Linked DNA regions of Homo sapiens: region 2 is linked to region 1. Evidence: promoter capture Hi-C in human tissues and cell types (Jung and others, 2019). All regions are on one chromosome and are shown on one strand. The core of a region is centred on a gene start or on the middle of the fragment in contact, and the rest is flanking DNA. Distances in the headings are between cores, read along the strand shown. Region 1 holds the start of NUGGC (nuclear GTPase, germinal center associated). Region 2 overlaps PBK (PDZ binding kinase).

The links. Contacts are between HindIII fragments. The study calls those that stand out against the background at their distance.
Region 2: a contact is called between a fragment that was not itself captured here and the fragment with the promoter of NUGGC in region 1, in 1 of the 25 tissues and cell types used here (adrenal gland).

The regions. Positions count from the first base shown.
Region 1 is chr8:28,081,390-28,087,988 of GRCh38, forward strand. It overlaps NUGGC (nuclear GTPase, germinal center associated), which reads right to left and starts at 2,547. Exons shown (of 19, transcript NM_001010906.2): 1 at 2,386-2,547. The HindIII fragment of the contact is 5,516 bases long and covers 1-4,573 here.
Region 2 is chr8:27,826,237-27,832,835 of GRCh38, forward strand. PBK (PDZ binding kinase) reads right to left here. Exons shown (of 8, transcript NM_018492.4): 3 at 1,869-1,962. Among named protein-coding and RNA genes, the nearest start is that of PBK, 8.3 kb to the right of the region's middle. RefSeq lists a silencer at 1,702-1,902. The HindIII fragment of the contact is 5,828 bases long and covers 1,253-6,599 here.

The DNA.
Region 1 (6,599 bases), core at 1,297-3,796:
GGCACTTATGCATCTGTACAAATGTTATTTTTTGAATATTTTATGAAGGTAGTTAAACTAGAAATCAGTACTAGTGTCATCCAGGCCACGTCTGTTAGTCTTTGGGGAACAGATGCCACCTTAGCTGAGATTCTGACTCCCGTTCTTGTCCCTATTGATCAAACACATTGAGGATGCTCTACCATCTTCCTTAAAGAATCTTCGATCAGCTGGGTGCAGTGGATCACACCTGTAATCCCAACATTTTGGGAGGCTGAGCCGGGCAGATCATGAGGTCAGGAGTTTGAGACCATCCTGGCTAACTCGGTGAAACTCTGTCTCTACTAAAAATACAAAAAATTAGCCAGCCGTTGTGGCACATGCCTGTAGTCCCAGCTACTCAGGAGGCTAAGGCAGAGGAATCGCTTGAACCCGGGAGGCGGAGGTTGCAGTGAGCTGAGATCATGCCACTGCACTCCAGCCTGGGCAACAGAGTGAGACTCCATCTCAAAAAAAAAAAAAACAATCTTTGGTCAAGTTTTTTCTTGCTCTCACAAGAAGGTGAGCTGAAGAATGAAAGAAGGAAGAGGAGGAGACTGTTAATGAAATGATAGAATGTTGATGAAATTTAGAATTTATTTCCTTTCTCTTTGAGTTTGGGTTTAGGTTTAAGTAACTTTGGTGTTGGCAACATTTCCTAACCACCTCGTTGGCCACTGCACTGCTCTTCCAAACTAGGGATGTCCCAAGGCAGCAATTTAAACACATTAGCTCAGAAGCAAAAGTGAAACAAGGGCCTCCAAATCTCTAAAGGAAAAGAGGTATGTTTTCAGCATTAACACATCGGCTAATGTGTTCAGAATTAGAAATGTGGCCACCAGAAGCAGTCGTAGTAGAAGGGAGGCTTTAGGATGACATGTTTTTCTCCATCTTTCTTCCCTAGGTAAAGAGGTAAGCAAAATAAGCAGATATTTTCATAACGTACTTTAGCAGATTCTAGCGAAACGAATTTGAATCTTCTCATATTGCTCTCCCAAGCTTGTTAAAGCTAATGAGGCATAAGATGACACTTCCCTCCTTATCAGGAATTCATACACCTGCCAGCAATTTCTGCAATAGCTGTTTTCTTTTGGGAGGAATGATTAATGACTTGCCTAAGATCACACTGTTCTGTAAAATTCAAACTAAAACCTGATTCTCCCCATTTCTAGCCCACTGGCCTTTTTACATAGCCTTAAAATTCACTTAAACAGCCTGAGCATGGTGGCTCATGCCTGTAATCCCAGCACTTTGGGAGGCTGAGAGGAGAGGGGATCCCTTGGGCCCAGGAGCTTGAGACCAGCCTTGGCAACAAAGTGAGACCCTCATCTCTACAATTTTTTTTTTAATTAGCTGGGCATGGCAGCATGTATCTGTAGTCCCAGTTATTCAGGAGGCTGAGGCAGGAGGATTACTTGAGCCCAGAAGGTGAAGATTACAGTGAGCCATGTTCATACCACTGCACTCCAGCCTGGGTAACAGACCGAAGCCTCAAAAACAAACAAACCAAACCCCCAAAATTCACTTAAGCAAACAGAAAAGTAAAATTCACTTTCCCTCAAGAAATAACTTGCTTTAAGAAAATCAAAGGAGAGAGAAGAGACAAATGTCCCATATACAGAAGAATTCCAAATAATTTACGTAGCTACTCCATCCTCAAGGAGGTAGAATAAAACTCCCTGCTCCTTAAGTGTGTGCTGTGCATAGCAGCTTCTTTCCAAAGAGAACACGGCGGAGATTGGAGCAGGGAAAGGATCACCTTATAGCAGAGAAACCAGACAAGCGCTGCCTCTACCAGGTGGTCAAGGTCAACACCAACAGTCCTAAATCATGTTGACAATATTATCCCTTGATATGATGTGATGAGAACAGCACTTTAACTCTGGGACTCCTTCCCCAAAACCCATAACTCCAGTCTAATAATGAGAAAAACATCAGACAAATGCCAATAGGAGAAGCCTACAAAATACCCAACCAGTACTCCTCAAAACTGCCATATTCATCAAAAACAAGGAAAGTCTGAGAAACAACGCTACAGCTAAGAGGAGCCTAAGGGAACATAACTAAATATAATGTGCTATCCTGATAGGATGCCACAGTAGAAAGCAGACGTTAGATAAAAACCAAGAATCTGAATCAAGCACAGACTTTAGTTTAAGAATAACGTATCAGTATCGGTTCATCAGTTGTAACAAATGTACCACACTAATACAAGATAATGGGGAAGTTGGGTGGGAATTACATGGGAATGCTCTAAACTATCTTCTCAATATTCCTGTAAACTCAAAACTGTTCTAAAAATTAAGGTCCATTTTTAAAAAATCAACCACAAGTTACAGTACAAATTACATAAAAGAAACAACTTACCAGATGTCACTGAACAGAAAAAAAAAAAAAAAGTTCTGGTTTGGTTACAGGAGTCCACAGAGGAGATGGTGGCAGCTTCTCCTTGGTTCAGGTATTTGGAACCAGCTGGGGTACGTAGCCCTTTGGGCCACAATCACAAAGCCACGTTTACACAGCAGAAGTGAAACCAACTTGCCATCAGGGAGCTATTTACCATGGTCTCCTCCCACAGATACTGATTTATTCTGTCTTCTTTCACTTAAATCTAAATTCACCAGGCACGGTGGCTCACTCCTGTAATCCCAGCACTTTGGGAGGCTGAGGCAGGCAGATCACTTGAGGTCAGGAGTACAACAGCAGCCTGGCCAACATGGTGAAACCTTGACTCTACTAAAAATACAAAAAAAAAAAAAAAATCAGCCAGGCGTGGTGGCAGAACCCTGTAGTCCCAGCTACTCAGGAGGCTGAAGCAAGAGAATCACTTGAGCCTGGGAGGTGGAGGTTGCAGTGAGCCAAGATCGCGCCACTGCACTCCAACCTGGATGATGGAGCAAGACTACATCTCGAAAAAAAAAAAAATCTAAATGGTACATGAAACGGGGATCTTGCACCCTTCTCTGCCATGTTCCTACAAGTAGACAGATGTCTTTTTTCCTTTCCAAGTGCATCACTGCATCCTTCCACAGCATCTTTTCTCTGAGGGTGAACAATATTCAGATGACTGGTTCACTGGAGCAGACAGGAAAAATGCCCCAGTTCCAAGACAGACAAAGCACTGGCTCCCCGACACCCAACTATAAGACATGACTGGGAGAGATGGAGGATATGAGATAATAAATATAAAGTTATTCTTGACCCAAAGTCTTAAAATTCACCAAAAATAACATTTGCCAAAAATAAAACAACATTGGATTGTTTGAGTGTAGAAATGAGTGATATACCGCTTTACACCTCTTTCTGGAACTTAAATTTTAAATCCGTATATTTTTATGTCTTTATTTAGTTAGAGACAAGGTCTTGCTCTGTCACCCAGCCTGGAGTGCAGTGGCGTGATCATAGCTCACAGCAGCCTCGACCTCCCAGGCTCAAGCCATCCTCCCACCTCAGCCTCCTGGGTAGCTGGGACCATGGTCATGCTCCATCACGCCCATCTAATTTTAAATTCATATTTTTAATAAACCCAGAAAACAAAAATTTGAAAGTGCTGTCCAGGAGAGAAGAAAATAAAACCCACTCCACTTTGCTGTGTCTGGCAACCCAAACCATCACATCACATACAGGGAAAAAGTTGTCCCTTGAACCCTCAGCTTCAGGGTGTGTGTTACCTTTTTTTTTTTTTTGTGAGACACAGTCTTGCTCTGTCACCCAGGCTAGAGTGCAGTGGCGCCGTCTCAGCTCACTGCAACCTCCGTCTTCCGGGTTCAAGAGATTTTCCTGCCTCAGCCTCCTGAGTAGCTGGGACTACAGGGGTGCGTCACCATGCCTGACTTTTTTTTTTTTTAATTTTAGTAGAGACAGGGTTTCACCATGTTTGCCAGGCTGGTCTCGAACTCCTGATCTCATATGATCCGCCCACCTTGGCCTCCCAAAGTGCTGGGATTACAGGTATGAGCTACTGTGCTGGGCCAAGGGTGTATGTTACCTTTAAAGGCCAACTCAGTCATTACCAAGACAACCCTCAGTACTCTAGGTATGTATTTAGTCTGAAGAGGGGATTCAGAAGGTAAAGAGGTCAGAACAGGGAAAGAATTGAAGATAAATGTTTAGACTGTGGTCTTAAAAACTGCTTTGAACTTTTGGCAAGATGACGTCCCTCCTCCATAAGAAAACCACAGAAACACCAGGCTAAAGTTCAGAACAAAGAAAGTCAGCACAAATGCCATCCTGGATGCTGAGTCTTATACTGATCTCTCTAGGCAAAATCACACCTTACGCTTACATTCATGTCACGTGTGCTCAGCTCTCCCTCTACTGGCTATTTCTTAGCTTCAACAGTTAACCACAAATGCTACTAAATTACTTAATTATTAAAATTAATTTTGAGCATTTTTAAAGCTTCCTGGGGCAAGGCCCAGTGGCTCACACCTGTGATCCCTGCATTTTGGGAGGCCGAGGTGGACAGATCACCTGAAGTCAGGAGCTTGAGACCAGCCTAGCCAACATGGTGAAACCCTGTCTCTACTAAAAATACAAAATCTAGCCGGTCATGGCAGTGTGTGCCTGTAGTCCCAGCTACTCAGGAGGCTGAGGCAGGAGAATTGCTTGAACATGGGAGGCAGAGGTTGCAGTGAGCCAAGATCAGGCCACTGCACTCCAGCCTGGGCGACAAAGGGAGACTCCATCTCAAAAAATAAAAAAATAAAGCTTCCTGAGTTCCTTTATTTGTTTGCTTGTTTTTGTTTGTTTGTTTTAGACAGGGTCTCACTCTGTCACCCAGGCTGAAGTGTAGTGGCGTTATCACGGCTCACTGCAACCTCAACCTCCTGGGCTCAAGTGATCCTCCCACCTCAGCCTCCCAAGCAGCTGGGACTACAGGCATGTGCCACCACACTTAGCTTAAAAAAACAAAAAACAAAAAAAGAAAAACAAAAACAAAACAAAACTTTAGTAGAGATGAGGTCTCCTTATGTTACCCAGGCTGAACTCAAACTCCTGAGCTCAAGCGATCCTCCCATCTTGGCCTCCCAAAGTGTTGGGATTACAGGTGTAAGCCACTGGGTCCAGCCTCTGGGGTTCTTTATGGTAGTCCTTGGCACCTGCTATTGGACGCCTGAATGCTAGGCCTGTTAGATGTTTCTCCATTCTCTCAGGCTGAATTTCCATTGAGCTCACTGAAAACACTGAAGCAATGAGACCGTCCACAGAGCCTCATCATCACCCCCAACCACCTATCCGGTGCTCTGCCCTCCAGCCTGTTGCTAGATGAACTATCCATGCACCCATTAAAGGCCAATCCCTTCTCTGTGCACCAGATTCCATCCCTCTCTCTAACTGAAGAACCATGTAGAGTACTTCCTCCTCTTCTCTAATTCACCAAACTTTCACTCTCCACTGGATTATTCCCATCTGTGAACAGATTTGATGTCATTCATTCCACCTTAACAAACACTCCCTGGACCTCCATTTCCCTGCCAGGTATTAGTATATTTCTCTGCACTTCTTTATGACAAAACTCCTAGGCTGGGCATGGTGTCAGCACTTTGGGAGGCTGAGGCAGGAGGATCACTTGAACCCAGGAGTTCAAGACCAGTCTGGGCAACATAAGGAAACCCCTGTTTCTACAAAAAATAAAAATAAAAATTAGCCAGGCATGGTGGTGCATGCCTATAGTCCCAGCTACTTGAGGGGCTGAGATGGAAGGATCACTTGAGCCTGGGAGGTCGAGGCTGCAGTGAGCTGTGATTGTACCACTGCACTCCAGCCTGGGTGACAGAGCAAGACCCTGTCTCCAAAAAAACAAACAAAACCCCACAACTCCTCAAAAGAGTTGTCTCTACTTACTGTCTCAAATTCCTTTCCTCTCAAGCTAATATAAACCTATTCCAGTCAAGCCTTCACCCTTCCCATCCCATTAAAGCTGTTCTTGTCAAAGTCCACAATGATCCTGGTCAATTTTCAACCTTTATCTTTCTTGAGCCATCAGGAGCATTTGACCTGGTTGATCATTCCCTCCTGTTTGACAAACCTCCTACACTTGGCTTTCAGATAACCACTCCCCTAGTTTTCATCCCATCTCCCTGGAAGTGCTCCTCAGTCTCCTTCACTGGTTATTCCCTCGCTTCTCAACCTGTTAATAATAAAATACCCCAAGGCTTCATCTTCGGTCTCTTTCCTTTCCACAGCCACCCTGTTTCGTAGCTTTCAATTTCGTTCACATACCGATGGCTCTCGACTGATATCCAGTGTCAACCTCTTTCGTGTCTTCCTGTTCACTAGTCATCCGAAAATACAAGTTCAAACCAATCCCCGCCAGTCCCTTGAAACACCTCTCCACCTAATTTTCTCCATTTCATCTAATGATAACTACATTTTTCCAGTCCCTTGGTCAAAAAGCTTTGGTGTCACATTTGATGTTGCTGTCTGCCTTTCATATTCCACATCTGATCTGTCAAAAAGTCTTGTTGAAATCTTCAAATTATATTCAGAATCTGAACACTTCTCACCACCTTCACTGCTGACTACCCCGATTTGAGTCTCAATAATCTCTGGCCTCATTCAGTGGTTCCTAAGTTTTG
Region 2 (6,599 bases), core at 2,917-5,416, 250 kb before region 1:
ACCCAGAAAACCAAAAAGGGCCATTCAAGTATGAGTAAAATGAAAACATTTTTGGAAATGCAAATTCTCAAAAAAATATATCTTCTGTGCACCGATTCATGGGGAGCTACCAGATGTCCTAAATGAAAACGGGATGTAAATCAAGAAATAATAAGACACAAGATACCTAAAAACACAGGATATAATTCAGCAGAGAAGCATAGGAAATTTGCAGGTTATGGATAAAAGAAATCCCAGGTTGACAGGGCTGAATCAGGAGGAGTGTAGGGTCAGGCAGGCACTGCTGTTCTTCAAGATCAGCTATTTGCCCAGCACTTTGGGAGGCCGAGGCGGGCGGATCACGAGGTCAGGAGATCGAGACCATCCTGGCTAACACGGTGAAACCCCGTCTCTACTAAAAATACAAAAAATTAGCCGGGCGTGGTGGCGGGCGCCTGTAGTCCCAGCTACTCGGGAGGCTGAGGCAGGAGAATGGCGTGAACCAGGGAGGCGGAGCTTGCAGTGAGCCGAGATCGCGCCACTGCACTCCAGCCTGGGCGACAGAGCGAGACTCCGTCTCAAAAAAAAAAAAAAAAAAAAAGATCAGCTATTTGAAGCTTTTTGACTAAACCACATACAGTGTAACTTTGTTAAAAACACTTTACATTTAAAAACTTTTTTTAAAAAGGGGGAAAAAAATGAAACTAGCCATAAACCTGTGAGAATTTTTTTCTTTCAAAATAGGAGTTAACACTAAAAAACAAATTAGAAAACAATACCATACAAACATACAAAAAAAATGTTTAAACTGCAAAAATGCTTCAGGAATACCCATTGTATATAATTACTAAATTATTCTTAATTAGCCTCTTATTAAAGAAAGCATTTCTATCTGGAAACAATGTAAACCTAGATGAAGCTAAGATACGGAGGGTTGGACTAGTTAGACTGATTCCAAGAATGCATTAAGGAATATATATTGATGTAGTTGTTTGCCACTTAATAAACATGAAACTAGGTACAGAGTAATGATTAAAAGAAGTAATTTTGGGCTGGGCATGGTGGCTTACACCTGTAATCCCAGCATTTTGGGAGGCGAAGGCGGGCAGATCGCTTGAGGCCAGAGTTCGAGACCAGCCTGGCCAACATGGCAAAACCCTGTCTCTACTAAAAATACAAAAATTAGCTGGGTGTGATGGTACACGCCTGTAATCCCAGCTATTCAGGAGGCTGAGGCAGGAGAAGCGCTTGAACCTGGGAGGTCGTGCCACTGCACTCCAGCCTGGTCAACAGAGTGAGACTCTGTTTCAAAAAAATATATGAATAATAAAAAAGTAATTTAAAAAAACACTTTGTTGACAGCTATATTGGCACCATACTTGTTCGATTATTTCATTTTTCTTAACACAATATTCCTACTTTAAAATCATGTATTTACCCTTCTTAATAACAATGCCATAAGAAATGAAAATCTTTTACTTCTTTTAGAAGAGCATATCTTAGGAGGGCAACGCTGCAGAAAAGACAGCAGTCACTGACATCACCCAATACTGGCTTCCTCTTTGAGGTTTTCTCATGAAGAATCTGGTTTAATTACCACAAAGGAACCCTTTCCCCTGCCACTTCCCCTTCTTATGGAAGCCAAGGAAAAATTAAAAAGTAAATGACTTCCCCTTTAATAACCCATCAGGAGGAAGCTAGGAGAAAAGCAGAGGCAGAGCTACAGGCAAAGTTACAAAAGGGTCTAGGGACCGGAATACAGCCATCAGCCAGGATCAGGAGCAGACAACCGAATCTAAATACTGGAATTTTCAGACTACTTCTTTGTCTCCAAGTACAGTAGAATTATAGTTGCATGAAAAAAGGTTAATCTGAAATCTTATACTTACCTTTTCATTAGGTACACATTTACCCCAGTACCAAAGCCAAGCTTCTGCATAAACGGAGAGGCCGGGATATTTATAGTTGGAGTTGAACATAATACTAAATGTCAGAGAAATAAAAAATAAAATTAATAAAAAATAAAAATAAAGCATCTTAACATTCTCAATATACTACTGCCAAGAGTATTAATTGGCACAGTCTTTTTGGAGAGCAATTTGACAACATATATCCTAATTTTAAATGGGTATCTTTTGACCAAGCCTACTTTTGGAGTTTTATCCTACAGTAACTCTGAAGCAGAGATTGGGAAATGGCCTGTTTTTGTATGGCCTACAAGCTAAGAACTGTTTTCACATTTTTAAAACATTGTTAAAAGATAAAGGGGTTGGATGTGGTGGCTCATGCCTATAATCTCAACGCTTTTGGAGTCCGGGGCAGGAGGGTCACTTGAGCCCAGTAGAGACCAGCTTGGGCAACATAAAGAGACTCCATCTCTACACACGAAAAAATTTTTTTAATTAGCCAGGAATGATGGCACACACCTGTGGTCTCAGCTACTTGGGAGAAACACTTGAGCCCAGGAGGTTAAGGGTGCAGGTGCAGTGAGCTGTGTTCAGCCTGGGTGACAGAGCAAGACACAGTCTCAAAAAAAAAAAAAAAAAAAAAAAAAGATGAAAAGATGGAGTTCTGCTTCTGCTCATGAAAAATAATTAACTACTCCTGGACAATTAACTGCTCCTAGAGTTACCATCTCGCCATTAACTAGAAAACTAGACAAAATATAATTGTTTTCAGACACTTGACAACAGGCAGAGCAGTGTTGTGATGCCTGAGAGAAGAGAAACAAATGAGGTGGGCCCTATCACTGCCCTAACTTACTGCTTGAAGGCAGTTTCCAGACTGCAGGACAGAGGTCACATAATCCAGAAGTCCTGTCACATTGAAGAGACAGAGATCAGAGGTCAAGAAGGACTAGGCGGCTAGAATTTGTGGAGCAGAGAACTAGAGAGCTCCAAAGAGAGCACTCCAAAGATCTGAACAGTTTCTCTTTGAGTGTTTGGCCAAGTACTTATCCGCACATAACAATGTGTAGATGCCCCAAAGCTGGGAAAGCACCAGAGGAAAGCAATTGGCTCAACAATTACCAGAGATCATACAAGTCTAGGAACACTTCATATCACCATGAGCTAGAGGATGGTAACCCTGTAACACATAGTAAAGTCCTCTAAAGGGTCACAACTAGATAGTACAGCTAAAGTTTAGCCCCAGATAAACATTCAAAACAAAGCTTAAAAGCCAGTCTCAAAAGGAACAGGCTAATGTGCAGGTAACTTAACCTCAGACCATAACTAAATCAAACACTCTTTAAAGGAATAACAAAATCCAGTACTAGACAATGCAAAATATCTACTGCCCAATCAAAAAGTACCAGGCATGAAAGCAGCAAGAAAATATGACCAATATAGGAGAAAAATAAATCAATAGAGGCCTAGCGCGGTGGCTCACGCCTGTAATCCCAGCACTTTGGGAGGCCGAGGCAGGCAGATCACTAGGTCAGGAGTTCGAGACCAGCCTGGCCAACATGGTGAAACCCCGTCTCTACTAAAGAGGCAAAAAATTAGCCAGGTGTGGTGGCACGTGCCTGTAATCCCAGCTACTCGGGAGGCTGAGGCAGGAGAATGGCGTGAACCCAGGAGGCGGAGGTTACAGTGAGCTGAGATAGCGCCATTGCACTCCAGCCTGGGCGACAGGGCACAAGACTCCATCTCAAAAAATTAAAAAATCAATCAATCAATAGAAACATACCATAAGATGACAGGAGGCCAAGAGTGGTGGCTCACGCCTGTAATCCCAGCACTTTGGGAGGCTGAGGCAGGTGGATCACTTGAGGCCAGGAGTTCAAGACCAGCCTGGCCAACATGGCGAAACCCTGTCTCTACTAAAAATACAAAAATTAGCTGGGCGTGGTAGCACGTGCCTGTAATCCCGACTACTCGGGAGGCTGAGGCAGGATAATTGCTTGAACCCAGGAGGTGGAGGTTGCAGTGAGCTGAGATCGCACCATTGCACTCCGGCCTGGGTGACAGAGCAAGATTCTGTCTCAAGAAAAAAAAAAAAAAAAAAAATGACAGGAATGGCAAAATTAGCAGATAAGAACCTTAAGACAAATCTTAAAAATGTGCTCAATGATACAAAGGAAAATCTGAGCATAACGGAAAAAAAAAGACAAAATAGAAGCTTAGGAATGAAAAATACAATGGATAAGAATAACATCATCTTAGAGCAGAAGAATAACTAAATCTTAAGACAGAGCAACAAAAACTATCAAAAATGAAGCAAAGAGAGAAAAAGGTTAGAAAAAAATCATCAATGAGCTATGGGACAATAGCAAAACAGCCGATTTACATCCAACAATAGACAATTACATTGAGTATAAATGGTCTAAACAGAGCTGTCCAATACATCATGCTGCCATGTGGAAATGTCTATATCTGTGCTGTCTGAGCGCTGAGCACTTAAAATGTGACTAATACAACTGAGGAACTCAATTTGTAATTTTATTTAATTCTAATTAATTTGTATCCAAATTTAAATAACCACATTTAATAATCCAAATTTAAATAACCAAATTTAAATAGCCACATGTAGCTAATGGCAAAACAGTCCAGTTAAAGGAAATTAAAGTTGTCAGAACGGATAAAAACAAGACGAGACATGCCATTTATAATAAACTCAATTTAAATATAAAGACGCAAATAGGGCAAGAGTAAAGGGTTGAAAAACATCATTAAAACACAAATCAAAATAAATCTGGAGTGGCTCCATTACTATCACATAAAGTGGACTCCAGAACAAAGAGTACCACTGAGGATTAAGAAGGGTATTTCGTAACAGTTAAGGTATAAATTCATCAAAAGAAATAACCATCCTAGGCCAGGCATGGTAATCCCAACACTTTGGGATCTGACTTGTGGTTTATGTGTCTTGGTGAATGTTGCATGCACTTGAAAGGGAGGCCAAGGAGAGTGGATCACTTGAGGCCAGGAGTTTGAGACCAGCCTGCCCAACATGGCGAAAACCTGTCTCTACTGAAAATACAAAAATTAGCCGGCCATGGTGGTGCACGCCTGTAATCCCAGCTACTCCAGAGGCCAAGGCACCAGAATCACTTGAGCCCAGGAGGTAGAGGTTGCAGTGAGCCGAGATCACACTGTTGTACTCCATTACGGGTGACAAAAGGAAACTCAAAAAAACAAGAAAAAGAAAAGAAATAACCATCCTAAATGTGTATGTACCTAATAACAAAGCTTCAAAATACATGAAGCAACAACTGATAGAAATTGGGGGTGGGGGGAAGCAGACAAATCCACATTGTAGTTGGAAACTTCAACTCTCTTCTCTCATAATTAATATAAAAAGTATACAGAATATCATTGACATTTGTAGAACATTGACATTTGTAGAACACCGTACCCAGTAAGAGTAGAAAAAAATGCCCTTTTCAAGTGCATGCAACATTCACCAACATACATAAACCTCAAGTCAGACTGATTAAGGAAAAAAATTAAGAAAATATACAATACTAGTACCAGATATGAAAAAGGACACTAGAAGGTTAATAAGGGTGTATCAAGAATAACTTCACACCAGTACATTTGAAAATTTAGAAGTGATGGACAAATTCCTTAAAAAACACTAACAAAATTCACAAAGAAAATAAGAGATCACTTGAATAGCCCTATATCTATTAACTGTGAAATCACAGTTAAACTCTTCCTACTAAGAAAACTCCAGGCCCAGATAGCTTTACTAGTGAATTCCACCAATTTAAGGAGGAATAATACCAATTCTACACAAAGTTAAAGAAAAAGATATTTCTATTAAAAAAAGAGAAACATTTCTCATCTTTATGAATACAGAATAACCTAATATTAAAACTAGACAGATATCCCAAAAAGACAACTGCAGTCCAATATCCCTCATGAATATAGACAATATCAGCAAATCAAGCAATATATAAAATATATCATGACCAAACTGGCTTTACACAAGGAAGTTCAGTTTAACACTTGAAAATTAACATAATTTACCACATTGAGAGATTTTAAAAGAAAATTTAATAGATTCAGAAAAAGCTCTCTACAAAGTTCAATACCCACTCACGATAATAACTAGAAATAGAAGAAAAATTCCTCAAACTAATAAAGGGTATTTGTGAAAAACCTACATCTAACATAATACATTGGGAACAAGGCAAGTATATCCACTAACATTTCTATTCAAAAACATACTGGAGCCAGTGCAATTAAAAAAAGTAAAAGAAACAAAGCCATACAGACTGGGGAACAAAGTAAAACTGTCTTTCTTCATCCACAAATGACCAACCATATACAACATCCCAAGCAATCTATTAAAAAGCTAATAGAATAAGTGAGTTTAGGACGGTTGCAGGATACAAGGTCAATATGAAAAATCTGTCACTAGAAATGGACAACAGAATATTTTCTCATGTTATTTTCTAGAAATTTAATTGTAGCTATTTTTTATATAATAGGAGTTAAGGGTCAAGGCTTATTTTTTGCACGTGGATATCTAGGTGTTTGTTGAAAAGATTTTCCTTTGTCCATTGAGTTGCCTTGGAAAATATCTTTCCCTCACAAGAGCAATGTATGGATGAGAGGGAGAAAGGTAAAGCAGTTCCTTAATGGGTCAAGCTAAGTTGATTCTTGGGCAGG